Linked DNA regions of Homo sapiens: all the other regions are linked to region 5. The links are contacts of gene promoters, found by promoter capture Hi-C in blood cells and fetal thymus (Javierre and others, 2016). All regions are on one chromosome and are shown on one strand. Each heading gives the region's core, a stretch centred on a gene start or on the middle of the fragment in contact. The rest is flanking DNA. Distances are from core to core; before and after follow the strand shown. Region 1 has its middle 14 kb from the start of FBXO2. Region 2 holds the start of C1orf167 (chromosome 1 open reading frame 167). Region 3 holds the start of NPPA (natriuretic peptide A). Region 4 overlaps CLCN6 (chloride voltage-gated channel 6). Region 5 holds the start of EXOSC10 (exosome component 10). Region 6 holds the start of FBXO6 (F-box protein 6).

Evidence for each region. Contacts are between HindIII fragments. The CHiCAGO score rates a contact against its expected background, and 5 or more counts as called.
Region 1: a contact is called between a fragment that was not itself captured here and the fragment with the promoter of EXOSC10 in region 5, in 7 of 17 cell types (endothelial precursors, naive B cells, fetal thymus and 4 more). The highest score is 8.6, in endothelial precursors.
Region 2: a contact is called between the fragment with the promoter of C1orf167 here and the fragment with the promoter of EXOSC10 in region 5, in 4 of 17 cell types (M0 macrophages, erythroblasts, naive B cells and 1 more). The highest score is 7.6, in M0 macrophages.
Region 3: a contact is called between the fragment with the promoter of NPPA here and the fragment with the promoter of EXOSC10 in region 5, in 2 of 17 cell types (naive B cells and total B cells). The highest score is 8.4, in naive B cells.
Region 4: a fragment that was not itself captured here is called in contact with the fragment with the promoter of EXOSC10 in region 5 in 1 of 17 cell types (erythroblasts); the score reaches 5.7 in erythroblasts.
Region 6: a contact is called between the fragment with the promoter of FBXO6 here and the fragment with the promoter of EXOSC10 in region 5, in 11 of 17 cell types (naive B cells, activated CD4 T cells, M1 macrophages and 8 more). The highest score is 9.1, in naive B cells.

The regions. Positions count from the first base shown.
Region 1 is chr1:11,638,690-11,642,693 of GRCh38, forward strand. No RefSeq gene overlaps it. Among named protein-coding and RNA genes, the nearest start is that of FBXO2, 14 kb to the right of the region's middle. The HindIII fragment of the contact is 793 bases long and covers 1,343-2,135 here.
Region 2 is chr1:11,759,885-11,763,465 of GRCh38, forward strand. It overlaps C1orf167 (chromosome 1 open reading frame 167), which reads left to right and starts at 2,309. Exons shown (of 21, transcript NM_001010881.2): 1 at 2,309-2,421. It also overlaps the pseudogene LOC101060126. The HindIII fragment of the contact is 5,648 bases long and covers 543-3,581 here.
Region 3 is chr1:11,845,549-11,849,443 of GRCh38, forward strand. It overlaps NPPA (natriuretic peptide A), which reads right to left and starts at 2,235. Exons shown (of 3, transcript NM_006172.4): 1 at 2,014-2,235; 2 at 1,565-1,891; 3 at 161-466. The coding sequence starts at 2,136. The coding sequence ends at 461. It also overlaps NPPA-AS1. RefSeq lists an enhancer at 1,271-3,061. The HindIII fragment of the contact is 12,440 bases long and covers 1-3,895 here.
Region 4 is chr1:11,816,959-11,820,919 of GRCh38, forward strand. CLCN6 (chloride voltage-gated channel 6) reads left to right here. Exons shown (of 23, transcript NM_001286.5): 5 at 2,530-2,596. Among named protein-coding and RNA genes, the nearest start is that of CLCN6, 13 kb to the left of the region's middle. The HindIII fragment of the contact is 361 bases long and covers 1,692-2,052 here.
Region 5 is chr1:11,098,500-11,102,081 of GRCh38, forward strand. It overlaps EXOSC10 (exosome component 10), which reads right to left and starts at 1,370. Exons shown (of 25, transcript NM_001001998.3): 1 at 1,222-1,370. The coding sequence starts at 1,332. EXOSC10-AS1 (EXOSC10 antisense RNA 1) reads left to right here and starts at 1,176. Exons shown (of 2, transcript NR_135062.1): 1 at 1,176-1,315; 2 at 3,302-3,582. RefSeq lists enhancers at 536-1,098, 750-809, 1,099-1,659 and a silencer at 711-912. The HindIII fragment of the contact is 4,706 bases long and covers 190-3,582 here.
Region 6 is chr1:11,662,315-11,666,163 of GRCh38, forward strand. It overlaps FBXO6 (F-box protein 6), which reads left to right and starts at 1,886. Exons shown (of 6, transcript NM_018438.6): 1 at 1,886-1,941. FBXO44 (F-box protein 44) reads left to right here. Exons shown (of 6, transcript NM_033182.7): 6 at 1-1,013. RefSeq lists silencers at 1,952-2,171, 2,222-2,291 and an enhancer at 2,412-2,461. The HindIII fragment of the contact is 5,022 bases long and covers 383-3,849 here.

The DNA.
Region 1 (4,004 bases), core at 489-2,988, 540 kb after region 5:
CCAAGGGGTTGATGCCTCCTCCCTCCTGCTCTCCCTCCCCGGGACAGTCTGATTCCAAATGCAGACCCGAGACTGTTAGGTCAAAGTCGCAGCAATAAATAGGAGTGGGGACTTCTGCTTTAATATATTGGATTATTCCACTTGGTGGTGACGAAAAACAAGATTTAATTCCCCAAGAAATGCCAGCCGAGAAAATCATTTTCCCTGCCGGCTTCCCCCTTCCTTTTTTTTTTTTTTTTTTTTTTTTTAGTTTTCTTTTTTTCGAGGACATCTTTGTCTTTCTGCAGCTTTGAGGGCCTCTCTACACCCTGCCCCACTGGAGACCTCCCCACACACTGCCCACAGCGTCTGGGGGCCTGTTTTTCTGTCCTAGAACATATTCAGGATGTTTTCCTCCCACCCTCTCAATCATAGGTCCCTGAGCACAGAGATTTCTATTCGAATCCAGATGCTACTACAGTGCTTCGCACATTGAAAAATTATGACAATAAGCCCCAGGAAAAGGCCAGTTAGTACTGCAGCTCCCAGTGACAGCCCAGGAAGCTACAAGCTGGCTAGGGAAGTAATTCACCCTCCTACCATCACTTGGGTCAAGAGTCCATGGACCGCCTCCTCCAGGAAACCTTCCTGATCAAGGTCTATGTTAGATGTCCCTCCTCTAAAATTCAGTAGGCTTCCCCTCACCACCCTTTTACTATTATTAGACTATAGTTGCCAGACTTGTCCATTTTATTTAACAAACTTGTATGTAGCACCTTTTATGTGCAGGCCTTGATCTAAGTGTCTTACCTATATTAATTCATTTGATTCTCATAACAATCCTATCAGGTAAGTAACAAAATCATCCCCATTTTACAGATGTGGAAACTGAGGCACTAACTGGTCACACACCTGGGGAGGGTCAGAACTGGGAACCCAGATCCTTCTCTCCCTCTAGTCTGTGAGCTCCTAGAGGACAAGGACCTCATTGGTTCACTGTTGTATCCTCAAAGCATAACAAGGTGCTGACACGCAGAAGGTGCTGAGTAAATGCTTAAGTGACCGGGCACAGTGGCTCACGCCTGTAATCCCGACACTTTGGGAGGTCGAGGCGGGCGGATCACTTGAGGCCGGGAGTTCGAGACCAGCCTGACCAACATGGTGAAACCCCATCTCTACTAAAAATACAAAAAACAGCCAGGTGTGGTGGTGCACACCTGTAATCCCAGCTACTTGGAGGCTGAGGCAGGTGAATCACCTGAATCTGGGAGGTGGAGGTTACAGTGAGCCAAGATCATGCCACTGCACTCCAGCCAGGGAAACAGAGTGAGATTTCGTCTCAAAAAAAAAAAAAAAAAAAAAAAGCTTAAGTGGTAAATCCTTCCACATATGAACCAAAGATCAATTCCTGAGGCTGAGTCTAAGTGTGTGATTTGTGGGACACAGAAAACTCCACCAATTCCAACTGAACCCGGAAGCCCACGGCCTCCACCACAATTCCTGTCTGCACAGAGGACTAGAATCCCTCCGCAAGAATCACTTCACCCAGGAAAGCCTGCAGGTGGTGACAGGGGGCGAGGAGAGGCAGCTCTGGAGGGGATTCCAGCCATGCAAAGCCCTTGCTGTGTGACCTGGGGCGAGAATGCACGTCTCTGGGCCTCAGTTTCATCTCAGCCTCTGAAATGGGAATAATAGCACACAGATGTGCTTGGAGGATTAAATAAAACCATACACAGGTGATGTTTTGAACACACCTATCACATGGTGAGTGCTCAGCGTGTGCTGAGATAGCATAGATTGTAAAACTGGACTTTGAGGCTACTTTTGCCATGCTCAGAAAATAAAAAAAAATAAAAAAAAATTAAAAAAAAAAACCTCATCAATCCGAGTAAATGAAGCAAACTTAGATCTGGATGGGAGGGTAGAGTTTTCTTCACAGTAGTAGTGAGGTAGGTGAGTTGCCAAGAATTACCAAGAAGAATTTCACAAATCACACACAATCCATTTACTTCTGGGAGTTATCAGGATGTGGGAGAGTCTGAAACGGAACTTACTGGACCAGAAATAGCATTTGATGAGCGTTTCATTCATCCGGCCAGCACACACTGAATGCCTTCCATGTGCACGAAGCAATGTGCAGATGAGGAAAGGGCTCAAGCTTTGGGGGCCATGGCGACAGAAGCCCCGTCCCAGCCAACTCTGCAGCCTACAGCTTGGTGACCTCGACCAAGGGCCCCACCTCTCTGAGCCTCGGTTTCCTCTTCAATAAATTTTGTGATGACAAAATAAAGCCTCCCGAGGAGGCTGCTGTAGGCAGTCGATGAGATAATGCAGCAGTAGACCAACAAATGTTGGTTCCCTCACCTTCTGGCAACGGCCCACAGCAGTCAGGCCACTCCATTCAGCTTCACTGTCTTGTTCCAAGAATCTAGTGGGTGCAGGAACTGGAGGCACATTAGTGCCTGGGAGTATCAAACCAGGTTGGCAGGTGAGGATCGTAGGTTCCATTTGTGTGGTTGAGGACAAGGGGCAAAGCCAGGTGAAGCCCAAGTGTTTCTGTCTCTAATTATTTTTATTTTTATTTTAGAGAAAATCTCACTGCCACCCAGGCTGGAGTGCAGTGGTGCGATCTCTGCTCACTGCAACCTCCATCTCCCAGGTTCAAGCGATTCTCATGCCTCAGCCTCCCAAGTAGCTGGGACTACAGGCGTGTGCCACCAGGCTCAGCTAATTGTTTTGTATTTTTGGTAGAGACGGGGTTTCACCATGTTGCCCAGGCTGGTCTGGAACTCCTGACCTCAAGCAATCCACCCGCCTCAGCCTCCCAAAGTGCTGGGATTACAGGCGTGAGCCACCGCGCCTGGCCATGTTTCTGTCTCTAAACCCAAGCTGTTAACACTGGACAAATGGCCTCCCTGATTCCTAGGAGAGGAAGGGAGGAAAAAAAGCAGAGTGGGGAGGAAGCCAGAGACCCCTGAATGCAGCTTCATTCATCAAAGGTGACCGCAGAAAGGCAGGGGAAGGTCCCAGGGGGCCTCGGATGGACATGGTCAGGGGAAGGTCCCAGGGGGCCTCGGATGGACATGGTCAGGTGGCTGGGAACTTCCACAGCGTTCCCCTCCACGCCTTAGAAACATCACCTCTGTGAGTGATTCCAAGCTCTTTGCACCCTCCTCCTTGGTGCCAGCCCCCTCCTTCATTCTGGCAGTTCTCCCTAACATCTACCTGCAATATTTCCTGCTGCATGACCAGCAGACCCCAGTGGCAACCCTAGCGAATGGCCCTCAGCCCTGTTCCATCCTGTCTGCAGAGCTCCTAGCAAGCAGCTCCTGGCTCCAGGCAGTAATCCTACTGACAATTAATTGGCTTTTGTTGGAGGAGAATGAATACCATCTCATCTTAATCTTCTTCATTATTCTCCTTGTTCAGCAGAGTCAACACAAGATTAGGTTTAATTTACGGTGGTGGGAAATAGCAAAGTCATTATGCACCAGGAACTCAGGATTGGATCTGTCTGGGTGTTCTGTGTTCACTGCAGGCCTGGCACCATCAAGCAAGGCCCAGGGCTCTGCCGAGGTGGAGATGGACTTGGGGGGGTTCTAGACTCCCAGACCTACTTGGAGCTAGATCCCAGGATACCACCAGCCCTCCCTAGTTGGGAGGGGCCCAGCTCTGGAGGGGAGTCCAGCCATCCAAAGCCCTTGCTATGTGGCCTGGGGTGAGACCCAGGGGCCTCCCAGGCCTTGGAGACCTAGCCTCCTAAATGTTTCTCATACAGCCTCTGGGGTCAGAGCAGCACCAAATCCCAGCCCCTGAAGAGCCAGGCTCAGCCCCAAACAATGGGAAGAGACCAGGACTTGGATTCAAATTCGACTTTTCCTCCGCAGAGAAATGGGCAGGACAGACACAGCTTGGGGACAGCCTTGACAATGCTGACACCTAGTGGTACTTGGAGGAACTGGCCCTTCCCTCCCTCTATGTGCACAATTGAATATACCATGTCCACAACTGAATACACCGCGTAC
Region 2 (3,581 bases), core at 1,059-3,558, 660 kb after region 5:
TGCCTAAGATCACACAGCAGCAGAAGGATTTTTTTTTTTTTTGAGACAGGGTCTCACTCTGTTGCCCAGGCTGGAGTGCAGTGACATGATCGTAGCTCACTGAAGCCTTGAACTCCTGGGCTCAAGCAATCTTACTGCCTCAGCCTCCCAAGTAGGTGGGACCACAGGTGTGCACCACCACAGCCGGATGATTTTTGTATTTTTTTTTGTAGTGATGAGGTCTTGCAATGTTGCCCAGGCTGGTCTTGAATTCCTGGGCTTATGAGAGCCTCCCACCTCAGCCTGCCCAAGTGCTGGGATTGCAGGTGTGAGCCACTGCGCCTGGCCAGCAGAAGGAGTTCATCACAGGTTTTCTGACTGAGTGCTCTTTCCTCTCCCAGCAGGTGCTTAGAAAGGAGAAAACATACAGTCTGGACAGAGGAAGGAGTGGGATGGCTGGGCACAGTGGGGAACAATGTGGGCAAAGGTTTGGGAGGTGGAAAGTGGACGGACCTTTGCAGCCTTGAAGGAAGTGTGATCGAGCTAGGCTGACGGCACGGCAAAGCTTGGGTATTAAGGTGGAGTCCAGCCAGTTTCTGAGGTGCCTGAAGGCTGGGAGAGTTTTTCTTTCTTTTTTTTCTTTTCTTTTCTTTCTTTTTTTCTTTTTTGAAACAGAATCTCACTCTGTCACCCAGGCTGGAGGGTAGTGGCATGATCACCACTCACTGCAACCTCCACCTCCCAGGTCCAAGCAATTCTCCTGCCTCAGCCTCCTGAATAGCTGGGATTACAGGTGCACACCATCACACCAGCTACTTTTTGTATTTTTAATAGAGATGGGATTTTGCCATGTTGGCCAGGCTGGTCTTGAACTCCTGACCTCAAGTGATCCGGCTGCCTCGGCCTCCCAAAGTGCTGGGATTACAGGCATGAGCCACCACATCCAGCCTTTTCTTTTCTTTTCTTTTTTTCTTTTTTTTTTTTTTTTTTTTTTGAGACAGAGTCTTGGTCTGTTGCTCAGGCTGGAGTGCAATGGCAGGATCTTGGCTCTCTGCAACCCTTGCCTCCCAGGTTCAAGTGATTCTCCTGCCTCAGCCTCCTGAGTAGCTGGGATTACAGGTGCCCGCCACCATGCCCGGCTAATTTTTGTATTTTTAGTAGAGACAGGGTTTCACCATGTTGGCCAGGCTGGTCTTGAACTCCTGATCTTGTGATCCGTCCACCTCAGCCTCCCAAAGTGCTGGGATTACAGGTGTGAGCCACTGTGCCTAGCCTTTCTTTCTTTCTTTCTTTTAACAAGAAATTTGTTATAGTTTTATTTTCCTTTGCATTTGCAAAATACTTAGGACCAACATGAAAAAGAAATACCTTCTATGGGGAAAAAAATGGCATTAAAAAGGAAGATGGGAAGGCTGAAAGGGATTTGTGCCTTAGTTGCAAGGAGCTGCAGCATCTCTGGTCCAAGGAATCAAAAAGATATTGGGAAGATATAACAGGAGGAAGAAGAATGTGAATTTACTGAGGGAGAGGGCCCCAAAGTGGGCCTTGAGGGGGAACTGGAGGCCCCGGAGTGGGTCTGGGTGGAGGGAGAGTCCCCCCCGGAAGCCATAGGGTGGGTGTTGGGGAGGGCCAGTGTATCCATGAGGCAGCATCGGTGGAGGAGGTCCACACATACCATGGAGGCATAGGACGTGAGTGACCCATGGGAGATCCAGACCGAGACCCCTTGGGGGACATGCTCATTGGAGGAGGTCCAGGATGAGGCATTCCAGGTGGTGATCAGGGTGGTGGCTGCCCCCCAGATCCTGGGGTCCCATCACGGGTGTGTCCTCAGCCATGAGGGCCATGGTTTGCCAGCTGCATCTGAGACATCCCTGGATGGGACATCGCACCTATTGGGAACGGGTGAGGATGTGAGTGTCCATGACCCGGATGTCCTGCCCCTGGGGTTCCTACCAGTGGGAGCCGGGGGCATGTCCTGCAGCCCCAAGAGGCATAGGTGGTGGGGACATGGCTGGGGGTATCCCAGATGTGCGGGGGCTCCAGGAGGCAGCTCTAGGTGCGGGAAGGAGCCAAGAGGAGGCACGCCTGGTGGAGGAAGCCCAGACCCCAGTGATGCTGCCACAGGATTCGGGGCAGAGGGTGGAGGAGGTTCCCGGGGACCTGATGGCCAAGAGAATGTCGCTCATCTTGCACGTGCAAAAGTTGCCCTGGGACCACGTGCCTTGCCTGCGGAGGACCCGGCAAAACCTGTACCAGGACGTCGGTGGCCACGCCCACGGCTCAGGGCTGGGCGGGGCCAAGCGCGGGGCAGCACGCTCTGCTCTCCGACGTCCCCTCCCGCCCGCGACCTGCCGACCTGCGGGGATCGTTAGCGGTCCCAGCCCCCGTCTAGATTCAAATCCGACTGGGTGAAGGAGGACCCGAGGAGGACCCACGCACGTGAGGGCAGATCCATGAGGGCAGGAAACTGACCTCAGACTCTTTTGGTGGCAAGAGGAGGGAGGCTGTGAGCCCCCTTAAGTGGACAGGGGTGGGGGTGGAGTGGGAGGGGGGAGTCTGAGGGAGACGGACGAGGAGCGGAGAAATGGACCGAAGAGCTCCGGCGTGAGGGGCAGGGGTGCAGGAAGGTCTCCTGTGGATTGAGCGGCCTCAAGTCAACTTGGGCAAGAGGGGATGGTGGGGTGTTCTTGGTTAGGAGTCTGCGCTGTGGAGCCAGCCCTGGGGTGCTCCCTCTGAGGCCTTGGGTGGGACAGGCCCTTCTAAGCTCCTGTCCTCATTTCTAAAACAGGGAACCTAAGTCCCAGGGCTGCAGTGCAGATTAAATGGCAGGACGCCTGCTGAAGGCTGCAAGGTGCCTAGCACGGTTGTCATTTATTCAATGTGCATTTACAAGCCCCTGCTGGGGGTCAGGCATTGTTCTATGGGCTGCAAATCCAGCAGGGAAACAAACAAACAAAAAAAACCAGCCTGCCCTCGTGTGGCTCCTAGGCCACTGGAGGGAGAAATACACTAATTTCTTCACTATGTTAGGTGGCCGCAAGTGCAGGGCAAAGAGAGTGAGGAGAGGCCAGGTTGCTGCAGTTGGAGAGACAGTGGGCAGGGAGGGCTCACTGTGATGTGGGAGGCAAGACTTGAAGGCAGAGGGGACAGCAGCACAGAGGCGCTGAGGTGAGGTCGTGTGTGCCATTTGGAGGAGCAGCCAGGGGGCTGGTGTGTGTGGAGGACAGTGGGCAAGGGGAAGAGGAATTGGGGAGGACCATAACTGGCAGCCAGATTTTAAAGACTTTGCGGGGCTGGGTGTGGTGGCTCACGCCTGTAATCCCAGCACTTTGGGAGGCCGAGGCGGGCCAATCACCTGAGGTCAGGAGTTCGAGACCATCCTGGCCATCATGGTGAAACCCTGTCTCTACCAAAAAATAGAAAAATTAGTCTGGCGTGGTGGCATGTGCCTGTGGTTCCAGCTTGTTAGAGGCTGAGGTGGGAGGATCCCTTGAGCCCAGGGAGGCAGGCGGAGGTTGCAGTGAGCCGGGATCACGCCATTGTACCAGCCTGGGTGGCAAAGTGAGACTCCGGCTCAAAAAAAAAAAAAAAAAGGTTTT
Region 3 (3,895 bases), core at 985-3,484, 750 kb after region 5:
GTGGAATTTGAGGCCTCCCCAACCACCTACCAAAAAAGGAGGGTGAAATGAAAGGAAGAAGAAAAACTCAGCATTCTTTCCTCTGACAAAGAGTAAAACGACAAGGAATATCGGCCTGAATTCTCTTCCCAAGAAGAAAGAAAGCACACCAACGCAGGCATTTGTCTTCTGTCCATGGTGCTGAAGTTTATTCACTTTCAAACCACTTTCAGTAACAGGTGAGGTTCTACCTTAAAATTTAATGCATGGGGTGGGAGAGGCGAGGAAGTCACCATCAAACCACTTTATCTACAGTTAGCATAAGATGTGAGAAGTGTTGACAGGAAGCTGCAGCTTAGATGGGATGATCACAACTCCATGGCAACAAGATGACACAAATGCAGCAGAGACCCCAGGGGACAGGAGCCTCTTGCAGTCTGTCCCTAGGCCCAGCCCTGCTTGTCCTCCCTGGCTGTTATCTTCAGTACTGCAAAGAGAACACAGACATATCTGGCTTGGTGACCTGGCTGTCCTGGAAAAGTCAGCTTCATGTATGAGTGTGCCCATCCTCTGAACTTGATTACTGACCACCTGCTTCCCACCGGCCCCCACCCCAGCCTGATGACCCTCTGAGCTTCATGAATTGATAAGCAAGTTACTCATCAGAGTAAATTTCACTTAAGCCCTTCAGGATCTTGCAATTCTGGGGAGGAATATGAACTGCTAATCAGCCATGCAAAGATAACTTGGCTCTATGAATATTTTAATTTCCCAGTGCTAGTGGCAGTTGCTTTTTTTTTTTTTTTTTTTGAGACGGAGTCTTGCTCTGTCGCCCAGGCTGGAGTGCAGTGGTGCCATCTCTGCTCACTGCAAGCTCCGCCTCCCGGGTTCACGCCATTCTCCTGCCTCAGCCTCCGGAGTAGCTAGGACTTACAGGCGCCTGCCACCACGCCTGGCTAATTTTTTGTATTTTTAGTAGAGACGGGGTTTCACCGTGTTAGCCAGGATGGTCTCCATCTCCTGACCTCGTGATCCACCCGCCTTGGCCTCCCAAAGCGCTGGGATTACAGGCGTGAGCCACCGTGCCTGGCCTTTTTTTTTTTTTTTTGAGACAGTCTCGCTCTATCACCTAGGCTGGACTGCAGTGGCGTGATCTCTGCTCACTGCAACCTCTGCCTCCTGGGTTCAAGTGATTCTCCTGCCTCAGCCTCCCAAGTAGCTGAGAGTACAGGTGCCCGCCACCACACCCAGCTAATTTTTGTATTTTTAGTAGAGCTGGGGTTTCACCATGTTGGCCAGGATAGTCTTGATCTCTTGACCTCATGATCCGCCTGCCTCGGCCTCCCAAAGTGCTGGGATTACAGGCGTGAGCCACTGTGCCCAGCCCCCCCCCCTTTTTTTTTTAAGCATTTTCTCAGCAGACTAGCTAAGGACAATAGATGGCATGTCCTGACACCCATGGGGCACTCTGGGTGTTGGGGCAGAAACTTGAGAGGGAATGAGCTTCTGCATTGGTCCCTTTCCTGCTGAAGGTGTCTCCCAGTAGTGTCCATCCCATCCCATTTCCATCCCCAGTTCCTCTTACCCGGAAGCTGTTACAGCCCAGTCCGCTCTGGGCTCCAATCCTGTCCATCCTGCCCCCGAAGCAGCTGGATCTCCGCAGGCTCCGAGGGGCAGTGAGCAGCGCCCTCAGCTTGCTTTTTAGGAGGGCAGATCGATCAGAGGAGTCCCAGGGGCCCCGCCCGAGGGCACCTCCATCTCTCTGGGCTGGGCTGACTTCCCCGGTCCAGGGAGGCACCTCAGGGAGGGGGCTGAGAGCAGCCCCCGCTTCTTCATTCGGCTCACTGAGCACTTGTGGGGGCACGACCTCATCTTCTAAAGGCATCTTTTCTTCCAAATGGTCCAGCAAATTCTTTAGAAAAGGAAAATACAGGGAAAGGGATAAACCTCACTGACTTGGAGGAAATCAAGAGGAGTGAGCACAGCATCAGAAAGCCCCCTGGCCCCAGACTGCACCCGCTTTCCTGGCCCTACCTTGAAATCCATCAGGTCTGCGTTGGACACGGCATTGTACATGGGATTAGCTCTGGTCTGACCTAGGAGCTGGAATGCCAGTAAAAGGAGGAAGCTCACGGTGGTGGTGGAGAAGGAGCTCATGCTGGCGTCGTCAAGGAGCAATCCACTGCTTGCTGCTCTGTCTCTCCCCTCTGGTTCCTCTCTGGTTCCCCTCTCTTGGCCTACGTCTGTCCCTGTCTCCCAGCTGCCCAGTGCCGCCTCTTTTTATAGCCCCCCAGCTCTCCAAGCACGCAGGAGAGACAGAACCCTCCCCATTCTGTCACTTGCAGTGATAAAGCTGCCAAGTGAGAAGCCAGCAGGAGATGCCCTTTTAAAGTTATCATCCCGCAGGGCTTGTCACAGCCCCTCTCTGCCTTGGGCAGCCCCAACAGCCCCCCAGACCCTCAGCTGCAAGAGCCGCATTCTTACTGATTTGACTCAAGAGGCTCCCACTTCAAAGGTGTGAGAAGAGTAAAAAAGAGTCCTTGGTTATCTCACCGCCGTGCCTCAGGATTCTTTCTCCTCGACGCTGGTACCCGTGCGGGGAAACAGAGGGTGACGCTTGGCTGGTGCCCAGCTCCCCTGGTTTGTTTGTGGCTCAGCTGTCAGGGCCTCCAAATAAGGGTGGAGAGGAGGAAATGGCAGGCAGCCAGCAGCCCGAGACAAATGGATCCAGATGCTCAAGCTGGCCTCACACCTGCCTCATCCGCCACGTGGGCAGACCTCTGGCCTCAGACAGGGCTGCCTTCACCCCTGGCAGTCCCTCTCCATGGTCAGGCGAAAGGAAGTTATTTTTTAGTATATAAAGTCAGCTGAGAACCAAATGTGATGAAGCTCCCAGGAATCCAACCCCCAAATAGAAATAGCAAGAAAAGGCGGGGGAGCACAAGCATCCTCTCTCCAAAGCTCCTCCTCTTCCATGTCCCCCGCGACCCTCCTCCAGCATGCTGCGGGGACAGGCTTAGAGGACGCAGCCAATTTCATTTCTTCCGTTGCTGTTTATAGATGCTCAGACTCTTCGTGTCTGAAGTTTGTTAACATCCCCCTGCCCTTCCTGGGCTTGTGCCCGTGGCAACTTGACCGATGGAGGAAGGGAGGTGGGGGTGAAGGAGGTATAGTCAGTTTCCCTCAATGCCTTCTACATCCTTCCCTGAGGACGTGGCAAGTGGCAAGTGACCGAGCCACCAAGGTCACAATTTCCCTGGCCCCCAAAAGGGAAATAACAGGCAGCAAGTCTGTCTATGTTTAATGAATGGCCTGTTTGCTAAGCACTGAACTCAGTGTTAGCCATTACCATTCAATGCAACGTATACTGGGGGAAAACTCTAAATTTGAAGGGCTGAGAGACCAGTACTGTAGCCCAAAACAAACCAGTTGCATACCTCTTCGCAGCCTTACTTTCCTTGTGTGTAAAATGAGAAAGAATGTTAAAAACCGGCCGGGTGCAGTGGCTCACACGTATAATCCCAGCACTTTGGGAGGCTAAGGTGGGTGGATCACCTGAGGCCAGGAGTTTGAGACCAGCCCTACCAACATGGCAAAACTCTGTCTCTACTAAAAATATAAAAATTAGCTGGGTGTGGTGGCATGTGCCTGTAATCCCCGCTACTAGGGAGGCTGAGGTAAAAGAATTGCTTGACCTTGGGAGGCGGAGGTTGTAGTGAACCAAGATCGCACCACTGCACTCTAGCCTGGGCAACAGAGTGGGACTCGGTCTCAAAAAATAAATAAATAAATGAATGAATAAAGTAGAAATCTTCCCTGCCTACCTTGCAGGATTGTTGTGGAGCCCAAGTGAGCTGAGAACGTGTCAACACATAACAAGTGTGCAGTGCTGAGTCCCTGCAAGATGGCCATCATA
Region 4 (3,961 bases), core at 622-3,121, 720 kb after region 5:
TTGGGCAGGACTTTATCTTTTATGATATGATTATGGATCATAATCTCTAATCTACCTAGTAAACTAGATGTCTCCCTAATGGGTAGATAATGCATTGGGTAGAGTAAATAATGGAAGTTAAAGTTACTTTTTTTTTTCTTTTAATTTAAATAGAGACAGGGTCTCGCTTTGTCACCCTGGCTGGAGCACAGTGGCGTAATCACAGTTCACTGCAGCCTCGACCTTCTGGGCTTGGGTGATCCTCCTACCTCAGCCTCCCGAGTGGTTAGGACTCTAGGCAGGCATGAGATCGCTCTTTAGGGAAAAAGCGAAGTCGTGGGTACGGAACTGTGAACATCGTGCCCTTCATTTAGCACAGCGTGCCAGTGAACAGGGTGGCACACCATAGCTATTGATCTCATGCAGGGAGTTTATGGTGCTATCCTGGGCTCCTCCCCGTACGTCGTTAATGTTATCTAGAAGATAGAGCCAGCAGCTGTGAGTGAAGGGATATGCCCGTATGAACAGAGTTGGTGGAGGCAGCAACTTCACAGGTGAATCAAAGACAAGGCAAGATTGGAAACATGGCCAAAGATGAGGATAGCAAAAAGTCTGGAACCAAAACTGCCGACTTCACATTGTTAAATATGAGGAAGAGAAGCTGGAAAAATCAGCATCAGTCAAAAAGATCCATGTCAAATCTGATTCCGGTCAGTACAGTGTTGGGATAGGGTATCTGTCCTCAGTAACAGCCTGTTGACCACCTTTATCTTGAACTGGCCACAAGCCTCCTACTTAATTTGACATGATATGCCTAGAAAATGTACACATGTGTTCGGTATAATATAGCCACAGGGGCCAACCACAATTTTTATTTTCATGGCATGCATCAAATTTTTACTATAGTAAATCCACAAGTAAAGGAACATCTTACTAGGTAAGACTGATGGCATTCAGAAGCCCTCTTCAGTGATATTCTGATGGATACCATTTTGGGGAAACTTGGGTTGATTTATTGTTTTATTTAAATCTCAGGGTGTTGGGCCAGGGACGGTGGCTCACACCTGTAATCCCAGCATTTTGAGAGGCCGAGACAGGAGGACTGCTTGAGCCCAGGAGTTTGAGACCAGCCTGGGCAACGTAGGGAGACCCTGTCTCCTTAAAAATAAAAAAAAAATTAAAAAAAAGAAATCTCAGGGTATTTATTTTGCTATATATGTTTCTGGTTGCAGATTTCTCTATAATAAGCATAGTCCTTAGGCCTCTAGTTGTTAGTGTTTGTGCTACTTTTATATCAAACTCTTTGGAGCTGCCACTTGTCAGTACTACAGGTTGAGTGTTCCTTATCAGAAAATCCAAAATGCTCCAAAATCCAAAACTTTTTGAATGCTGACACGATTCTCAGGAAATACTCATTGGCGCATTCAGATTTTGGATTTCAAATTTTTGGATTTGGGATGTTTAATCAGTATAATGTAGATATTCGAAAAAAAAATCTGAAATCCAAAACACTTCTGGTCCCAAGCATTTCAGATAAGTGTTACTCAAGCTGAAGCAACTTTACCTCCTACCTTTGTATTTTAGGAAGGCACACCTGCCTTTATGACATAGCACTCCCAACTCTTGTCCATTGATGTGTGGCCACTTTATGGCTTCAGTATCAAAAAGCCTCCAGGCATTGGCTTGAGGGAAGGCCAGAGTTAAAGGCAAGAAGCTTTGATCCTGAATCCATAAAATTAGAAGTCTTTCTAGTTCTCCTTTAAGCCCTGAGCACTTTGGAGAGTGGAATACTGGAATTTGGTTGTTTTCTCTACCCAGAGTAACTATGGACTATAAGATGGTTATAAGTCAAGCCTGGCACAGTGGGGTGTGCCTGTAATCCCAGCTACCTGGGAGGCTGAGGCAGGAGGATCTCTTAAACCCTGGAGTTCAAGGCCAGCCTAGGCAATATAGCAAGACCCCATCTCAAAAAAAGATGATTTCAAGTCAAAATAATGACTTACAAAATAGAACCTGCTAATAAGGAACATGCAAAAAGCACATACACCTAAATGAATGTTGTGTTTTAAAGCAAGCTTGTCCAACCCATGGCCCAACACAGATTCATATACCTTTTAAAAACATTTATGAGATTTTTCTGAGTTTTTCTTTTCTTAGCTCATCAGCTGTCATTAGTGTATTTTATGTGTGGCCAAAGACAATTCTTCTTCCAGTGTGGTCCAGGGAAGCCAAAAGAGTAGACACCCCTGTGTCAGTAGTCTTTCTTGGTCTCACATCTTTTTCTGCACCTGCTTCCCTCTTTGTTTTCCGTTGCTTCACTCAACTTAGCTGTACTCTCTGCCTTTGTTCTTTGGAGGGGCAGTGGGACTGGGCTGGAGAAGGGATCTCCTCCTTCTGCGCTTTTCTGCTGTGCATTCACGTACTGCTGGCTGGTGAGCAGCCTCCGTATGTGCAGTGGGGGAGGAGATGCCTTCAAGAGGAGCACACCTGTACTATACTTGTGCTACACTTGGAAATAAGGCTGTGTGACAGATCTCTTGCTCTTCACAGGTGGGTCTCTTTGTGGACTTTTTTGTGCGACTCTTCACCCAACTCAAGTTCGGAGTGGTACAGACATGTATCCTTTTCACGGTTCCTGGTGTTCGTGGACTTCAGTGGTCACCAAGATTCTTTCTTACATAGAAATGGGTCTAACAGTAAGCATAGTATTAGAAGGGCCGCTTATTAGCTATTCAGCTTTAATATTTCTAATGATCACTGAAGGACACAAAAGAAGGACTTTAATAAGCAAAGACATATACCTATGTTTGTGGTTGATAAGATTACAGATGCCGCAAAGATGCCTGTACTCCCTAATCTGTAAATTTAATGTAGTTCCAATCAAAATTCCAATAGAATTTGTTGTGGAACTCAGAAATTCTTTGTAAATTTGTGTAGAAGAGTAAAGGGCCAAAAGCAGTCAGTATAGTTCTAAATGACAAGAAGGTGGACTTGACCCTGTCAGATATCAAGTCTTATAAAATTAACAAGTTTGGGGAGTTAGGGAAAAAAAAGTCATAAAATTTAAGATACAGTCATTGAAATTGGTCATATTGGTGCAGGAATACCTAGACAGTGGAAAATGATAGAGAAGCAGAAGCTGGTCCTCACATACATGGAACTTTGGTGAATGACAGTTAATATTACAAATCAGTGAGGGAGTGATGAATGATTTAATAAAAGACGCTGTGTTATTTAATAAATAAAAGATACACATCTCTGTAGTCCCAGCTACTTAGGAGGTGAGCCCAGGAGTTTGAGGCTGTAATGCACCATGACTGTGCCTGGGCAGCATAGCAAGACCCTGTCTTAAAAAAAATGATGCTGGGACATGGGTGATCCATATGGAAAAATAGTTATATTCCTATTTCATACTATAAATAAGATAAATTCCAGATGAAGATGTAAATATGCAGAACAAAACTTCGGGAGACTATATGTTGTCAAGAGTGGGGAATAATTTCTTAAAACTCCAGAAGGCACAGACTATAAGAAAAAACATCAATGGGGCCGGACACAGTGGCTCACGCCTGTAATCCCAGCATTTTGGGAGGCAGAGGCAGGCGGATCACAAGGTCAGGAGATTGAGACCATCCTGGCTAACACGGTGAAACCCCGTCTCTACTAAAAATACAAAAAAATTAGCTGGGCGTGGCGGTGTGCGCCTGTAGTCCCAGATGCTGGGGAGGCTGAGGCAGGAGAATGGCATGAACCTGGGAGGCGGAGCTTGCAGTAAGCCAAGATCACGCCACTGCACTCCAGCCTGGGTGACAGAGCAAGACTCCGTCTCAAAAACAAACAAACAAAAACATCAATGGCTGGGTGCAGTGGCTCATGCCTGTAATCTCAGGACTTTGGGAGGCCGAGGCAGGCAGATCACCTGAGGTCAGGAGTTCAAGGCCAGCCTGGCTAACATGACAAAACCCCATCTCTACTAAAAGTA
Region 5 (3,582 bases), core at 120-2,619:
AAACAGGAAAAATAAAAAGGGCCTGCACCACAGAGTTTTTGTGAGGACAGAATGAATAAGCTAATAAAAGCACTTAGGACAGTTCTTGGCACATAAGCGTTATTATTACGACTCAAGTTCAGATCCAAGAGCTTTCTACAGGAATTTGTTTTTGTGTTTTCATCTGGATGAGCATCTAAAAACAATACAAGCTTATCCTAGATCCTTGGACGACAAATTTATAACAGCTACTATCTAAAACTGGATTTGTGTTTATTGTTCAGTTAGTGTCAAGTGGTTCTCTATTTTAACTGTTGTGAGGTAACGAAAAAAAGCCGTGAAGTGACATAAATGATGGCTGATCATGTGAAGGCCTAAAACGTCATTGTGAGTTTTGTGAATAAACATTTCCCAAGAAAAAAGCAGAGAAAGGAGGTGGGAAATTAAGTCACGGAGGGGAACATGGTAGCTTATGAGCATGACCGCCACACAACCAGGACCACAGTTAGTGGTCCAGGAACTATTGAGAGCCATGTTAATGAATCAATAGCATTAGCTAACAGCAAATTAGATAAGATACAACGTTAGTGGAATTTCTGTAAATTTATAGGGTTAATTTACAAATTATTTTAGTTTCATTGCTTTGTAAGAGCTATGCACACCTTAAGCCTAGTTGTACGTTTGCTCATATTTAAGCTAAGTTATACAAAGATCTTAAGTGAACGCCCTGTATACCTTCCAGGAGTTACTAATAAACGTGCAATGGGGCTTTAACAGGTGACATTTAACTCAGGGTTAAAAATTATGTAGGACTGGACTTCAGAAACAGAGGAAGAGAAGGGCCATACTGGCCGCGGGAGGAGACAACTCCAGGCAAGTGTGGGGAGCGCGAAGAAGCCGAGCCCCTGCGGAGAGCTGGTCGGGTGGCTAGGGCGTGGCGAGCGCGACGTCGCAAGGGCTAGGGACGTCTGGGTGGCAAGGAAGCCTTTCCCAGGATGCGAGACGGCTTTCCACATTTGGGCCTCCATGGACTTAGGCTCGCAAGCGGGACGCCCCTCAGTGTCCGTTTCCGAGGCCCCATCCCCGGAGGGTGCAGGAGAGTCTGCGCCCAGCGCGGACAGGGGCCCCGCGACCCTCGCTCGGGCTCCACTACGGCGGGCGGGCATTGGCTGCCCAGAGGGCCCAGTCGGCTTCCGGCGGCCGCGGGCGACTCCTGGTACCCCCGAGGCCCCGCGAACTCACCTTCACAAAGCTGTCGGCGTCCGGGAAGCCTGGCAGCACCATCTCTCCGTCGGATTTGGTTGCGCTGGTCGCCGACAGGACCCTGGGCTCCCGGGTACTGGGTGGCGCCATTTTTTCAGCCTGCACGGCTCGTCTCGCGAGAGCTTGTCGGCCGAGGAGACGGGACGCGTGCGCACCACGCATGCGCCAGGTCGAAGCGGCGGGCGGGGCGTCTGATTATAGTGTGGGGAGCCTGCGATTGGGGTGGGGCGCCTGCGATTAGGTTGGGAAGCCTGCGTTTAGGGTGGGGCACCTGCGATTAGGTTGGGAAGCCTGCGATTAGGTTGGGAAGCCTGCGATTAGGGTGGCACTTTCGAGCGCTCTGGTGTGAATTTCACGTTCTTTTACCTCATATTGTATCATCCCAACAACCCTGTGATCTAGGGTGCGGCCTGGAGGACCTGACTATCACATATATTTTTGACACGAGGTTTGCCCAATCTGGTTTCGAACTCTTGGGCTCAAGAGATCCTCCCACCTTAGCCTGCGAAGTAGCAGGGACCCCAGGCGAGGGCCACGATCCCCGCTTATCCTCGTGTTTATTTAAAAATTTAAAAAACAAACAAACCGGGATTACCGGGAGTGGTGGTGCGCATCTGTAGTCCCAGCTGCTCGGGAGGCTGAGGTGGGATGGTTGCTTGAGCCGAGGAGGTGGAGGCTCCACTGCACTCCAGCCGGGGTGACAGGATGAAACCCTGTCTCAAAAATTTCTTTTTAAGGTTATGTTTTTGAGGCTGGGCGCCGTGACTCACACCTGTAATCCCAGCACTTTAGGAGGCCGAGGCGGGTGGATCACCTGAGGTCGGGAGTTGGAGACCAGCCTGGCCAACATGGTGAAACTCTGTCTATACTAAAAACACAAAAATTAGTCGGGCGTGGTGGCACATGCCTGTAATCCCAGCTACTCGGGAGGCTGAGGCTTGAGCCCGGGAGGTGGAGGTTACAGTGAGCCGAGATCGAACCACTGCATTCCAGCCTGGGCAACAGAGTGAGACCTTGTCACAAACAAACAAAAAAAACCATGTTTTTGGGACAAAGTTTCACTCTTGCTCTCCCAAAGTGCTGGGATTACAGATACGAGTCATCAGCGTGCAGCCTATTTTTATTTTTATTTTTTTTGAGATGGAGTCTCACTCTGTTGCCCAGGCTGGAGTGCAGTGACGCAATCTTGGCTCACTGCAACCTCCCGCCTCCCGGGTTCAACGAATTCTCTTGCCTCAGCCTCCCGAGTAGCTGGGATTACAGGCGTGCACCACCACGCTCGGCTAATTTTTTTCGTATTTTTAGTAGAAACGGGGTTTCACCATATTGGCCAGGCTGGTCTCGAACTCCTCACCTTGTGATCCTCCCGCCTCGACCTCCCAGAGTGCTGGGATTACAGGCGGAGCCACCGTGCCTGCCCTGTTTATTTTTTTTTTTTGAGACAGAGTCTCACTCTGCTGCCCAGGCTGGAGTGCAGTGGTGCAATCTCAGCTCACTGCAACCTCCGCTTCCTAGGTTCAAGTAGCTGGGATTACAGGCGTGTGCCACAATGCCCGGCTAATTTTTTTTTTTTTTTTGTATTTTTAGTAGAGATGGGGTTTCACCATGTTGGCCAGGCTGGTCTTGAACTCCTGACCTCAAGTGATCCACCTGCTTTGGCCTCCCGAAGTGCTGGGATTACAGGTGTGCGCCACCAGCGCCTGGCTTATTTTTTTTAGACTGCATCTTACCAACCTGGTCTCGAACTCCTGGGCTGAAGCCGTCCTCCCACCTCACTGGGATTACAGGCAGGAACCACTGTGCCCGGCCCAGCCTCATATTTAAAGTCACCTCCTCCCAAGCTCTGGCTGGTTCTGTGTTCCCCTCACCCATTTGGTCTTGACTCCTGTAATTAATTACACCTCCCCTGCCCCCTGGATCTATCTTTTCCCTCTCTATTGGTTCATTCCTAACAGCCTACAAGTACACTGACATCTTTCCCAACTAAAAGAGAAAAGGAAAAAACACTGGCTCCCACATCTCCTTCCAACTGCCATCATCTCTCTCTTGCCCTTTACAGGTAAGCTCCTGAAGAAAGCGTCTAGCTCCAACTGTGCTTCCTCCCTCCAGTACCCTCTGAACTCCTCCAAGCAGACGTTGTTTCCTGCAGACATCGCTGGAACCATTCTGGTTAACACAGAGTGGGAACTCAGTACACATTTGTGAAGTGAACTCCTGGAAGAGCTCTTGTGAGGGAGGCACCGAATTATCAGGCAGCTCAAGAGATAGATTCACTCTCCTGAAATTAGAGATGGGATGCCCTTAATACAATTCATTCCACCCATTAAGTCTTCAATAAAT
Region 6 (3,849 bases), core at 636-3,135, 560 kb after region 5:
GGAAAGGCAGACTTTAGGTGGTCCTGCCTGGACCTGCAGATGGTACAATGGCATGGCTTCTGTCTAAGGTACAGAGGGGTTGGCATTTCAGGAACCAGGCCATCACAGAAACAGGTTCATGGGCAGACCCCTCAGTGAGCTGCAGGTATCTCACCTGGCAGCCGTCCAGTACTGCTGGCTTCCTCTGGAGGCCCAGCCACAGGCTGGGGTTGGGGTGTGTGGACATCTCTGGGCAGCTCTTGAGTCCACCTTGTGCCAGATCAGCAGTGCCACCCAGGCTCTGCCTCCTGGTGTTACTCTTTGCCAACAGCTTTACGGACATTGGATGAAGCCGAAGCATTTAGAATGGTGCCTGGCACACAGTTGGTGCGTGATATGGTTAAGCTTTGTGTCCCCACCCACATCTCATCTTGAATGGTAATCCTGGGTGTTTAGGGAGAGACCTGGTGGGAAGTGATTGGATTATGGGAGCGGTTTTCCCCCATGCTGTTCTCATGATAGTGAGTGAGTTCTCACGAGATCTGATGGTTTTACAAGTGACGGTTTCCCCGGCTCCCTCCTGCCGCCATGTGAAGAAGGTCGTTGCTTCCCCTTCACCTTCCACCACCATGATTGTAAGTTCCTTTTTTCTTTTCTTTTCTTTTTTTTTTTTTTTTTTTTGAGATGGAGTCTCGCTCTGTCGCCCAGGCTGGAGTGCAGTGGCGCAATCTCAGCTCACTGCAAGCTCTGCCTCCCAGGTTCGCGCCATTCACCTGCCTCAGCCTCTGGAGTAGCTGAGACTACAGGCGCCCACCACCATGCCCGGCTAATTTTGTTTGTATTTTTAGTAGAGATGGAGTTTCACCATGTTGGCCAGGGTGGTCTCAATCTCCTGACCTCGTGATCCACCCACCTCGACCTCCCAAAGTGCTGAGATTACAGGCGTGAGCCACCGCGCCCAGCGATTGTTTCTTGAGGCTTCCCCAGCCATATGGAACTATAAGTCAATTAAACCTCTTTCCTTTTATAAATCACCCAGTCTCGGGTATTTCTTTATAGCAGTGTGAACATGGACTATAATCCAGTGCTCAATAAGTACTCCTCACATTTAGCTATCTCAGTCAAGGGTGAGCTAGATAAGGGCTTTGGCCAGGGCAGGATCACCACCCACCAGCCCATGGCAAACTGCAAAAGGACGGCCTTCCACGGAGAACATGTAGCCCTGACTGCAATTAATGTGTCCTGGGCCAGTCCCCTTGTGCAGTACACAGCCTGCACAACCCTTGGTGGTTGCCTGAACAAGGTGCTTGCTAAATATTTGTTGACTGATGGAAGAAATTCATGAACTTAATCCTGATAAAAAACCTCAGAGGTTTTTTATTTTTTGAGACAAGGTCTGGCTCTGTCGCCCAGGCTGCAGTGCAGTGGTACAGTCTCCACTCACTGCAGCCTCCCAGGTTCAAGCGATTCTCCCACCTCAGCCTCCGGAGGAGCTGGGATTATAGACCTGTGCCACCACGCCCGGCTAATTTTTGTATATTTAGTAGAGACAGGGTTTTTGCCATGTTGGCCAGGCTGGTCTCGAACTCCTGACCTCAAGCGATCCTCCCCACCTCGGCCTCCCAAAGTGCTGGGATCACAGGCGTTAGCCACCTCCTAGCACCTCAGGTTTTTTACCTTTGAGTCTATGAAGCCTGCGGAGGTCACGCCCTAGGGAAAGAAGGAGCCCACTGGGTGTCAGGTCCTGCCTCTAGGGAGGGGACCGCGGGTCAAGGGTGGAGCCCTGGGCCGCATAAGGAAGGAACTAGTGCGGAGGTCCGGGGAGCGGCCGCGCGTTCGGGAGCTTCGGCCCTGCGTAGGAGGCGGGTGCAGGTGTGGGTGCTGAGCCGCCCGCCGCCTGGAGGGGGAGACAGCTTCAGGACACGCAGGCCGCAGCGAGGGCCCGGGCCCTGGGGATCCCAGGTTCGTCTTCCCGCGGCGAGGGTTAGGGGCCGGGCCGAGAGGGACGGCAGCGGGGTCCGGGGCGGGGGTGGGGACCGAGCGCAGCGCGTGACGCGGCGGCGGGGCCCAGCGACAACGAAGCCGAGGCCGTAGGCTCGGGCCGACCTGGAGCTCCGCCGCTGCGCCCAGGTCGCGTCCCCGGGGGGACGGGCGGCGGGCGAGTGGGGAGCCGGGGTCTCCGGCGCCTGGGCGTTCACGGAGCCTGCGGGCGCTGGTCCGGGCGGCCAGGGGTGGGGGGCGCGGGCGGCTGGGCCCGGACTTCGACTGGGGGCCTGGCCCCGGGGCCACCCAGGCGGAGGCTCTGCGGCCGCCTCCACCCCGGCCACATCCCGAGGCCGGCGCCGGGTTCGGAGAACTGTCAAGGGACCTCCAGGCCCCCACACGCCTGCGAGATCCGGCGCTTGCCTTGCCCCAGCCACAGTTTCTGTTTCCGAGAAACCGGTGAAGTAACAATGCCACTAGAGCTTGCTGGGAGGGTGGGTGCGGAGAAGGCGAGCACGAGACGCCGGGCCGGGCAGTTGGGGACCCCGATCGGTGTGAGAGGGCTTCCTAGGGCTGGCATGGACTTCCCCACCACAAAATGCCCAGGGCCGGGGGGGGGAAGGGGCGCAAGAAAATGCGGACTGGGCCAGAGACCAGACTTCGGTCACCACGGTGGGAAGCTATTGGTGCCTAGATGCCTCTAGCTTGGAGCCCAGTGACTTTTATTTCGTCTAGAGTCTAGACAGTGCCTTTAGAAGCTGCCAGCATTTATTTATTTATTTATTTATGGCAGAGTCTTGCTCTGTCACCCAGGCTGGAGTGCAGTGGCATGATCACGGCTCACTGCAGCCTCGACTTCCTGGGCTCAAGCGTTCCTCCTGCCTCAGCCTCCTGCATAGCTGGGACTACAGGCACGGGCCACCAGGCCTAGCTAATTTCTTTTTTTTTTTTTTTTTTTTTTTTTTTGAGACGGAGTGTCGCTCTGTCGCCCAGGCTGGAGTGCAGTGGCGCGATCTCAGCTCACTGCAAGCTCCGCCTCCCGGGTTCAGGCCGTCCTCCTGCCTCAGCCTCCCGAGTAGCTGGGACTACAGGCACCTGCTTCTCGAGTAGCTGGGACTACAGGCACCTGCAACCAAGCCCGGCTAATTTTTTGTATTTTTAGTAGAGATGGAGTTTCACTGTGTTAGCCAGGACGGTCTCGATCTCCTAACCTCGTGATCCGCCCACCTCGGCCTCCCAAAGTGCTGGGATTACAGGCGTGAGCCACCGCGCCCGGCCTTTTTTTTTTTTTTTTTTTTTTTTGAGACAGATTCTCACTCTGTTGCCCAGGCTGGAGTGCAGTGGCACGATCTCGGCTCACTGCAACCTCCGCTTCCCGGGTTCAGGTGATTCTCCTGCCTCACCCTCCCGAGTAGCTGGGACTACAGGCGTCCGCCACCACGCCCAGCTAATTTTTGTATTTTTAGTAGAGACGGGGTTTCGCCATATTGGCCAGGCTGGTCTCGAACTCCTGATCTTGTGATCCGCCCGCCTCGGCCTACCGAAGTGCTGGGAATACAGGCCTGAGTCTGTGCACCCGACCTAATTTCTTTTTTTCTAGAGACAGAGTCTCACTATGTTGCCTAGACTACAAGCATTTTTAATTGACAACTTTTACATTTTTTTTCAAATGCTTACAGTTGCTTCTCAGAACTTAGAAGACTTGGCCACATTGGGTTTTTTTGTTATTTTTTTTTTCCATCAAAGCATTTTTCTTTTCTCTTTTTTTTTTTTTTTTTTTTTGAGACAGTTTTGCTCTGTTGCCCAGGCTGGAGTGCCATGGAGCAATCATGGCTCACTCTGCTCCAGCAGGCTCCTTCTTTCCCTAGAGTGTGACCTCGGCAGGCC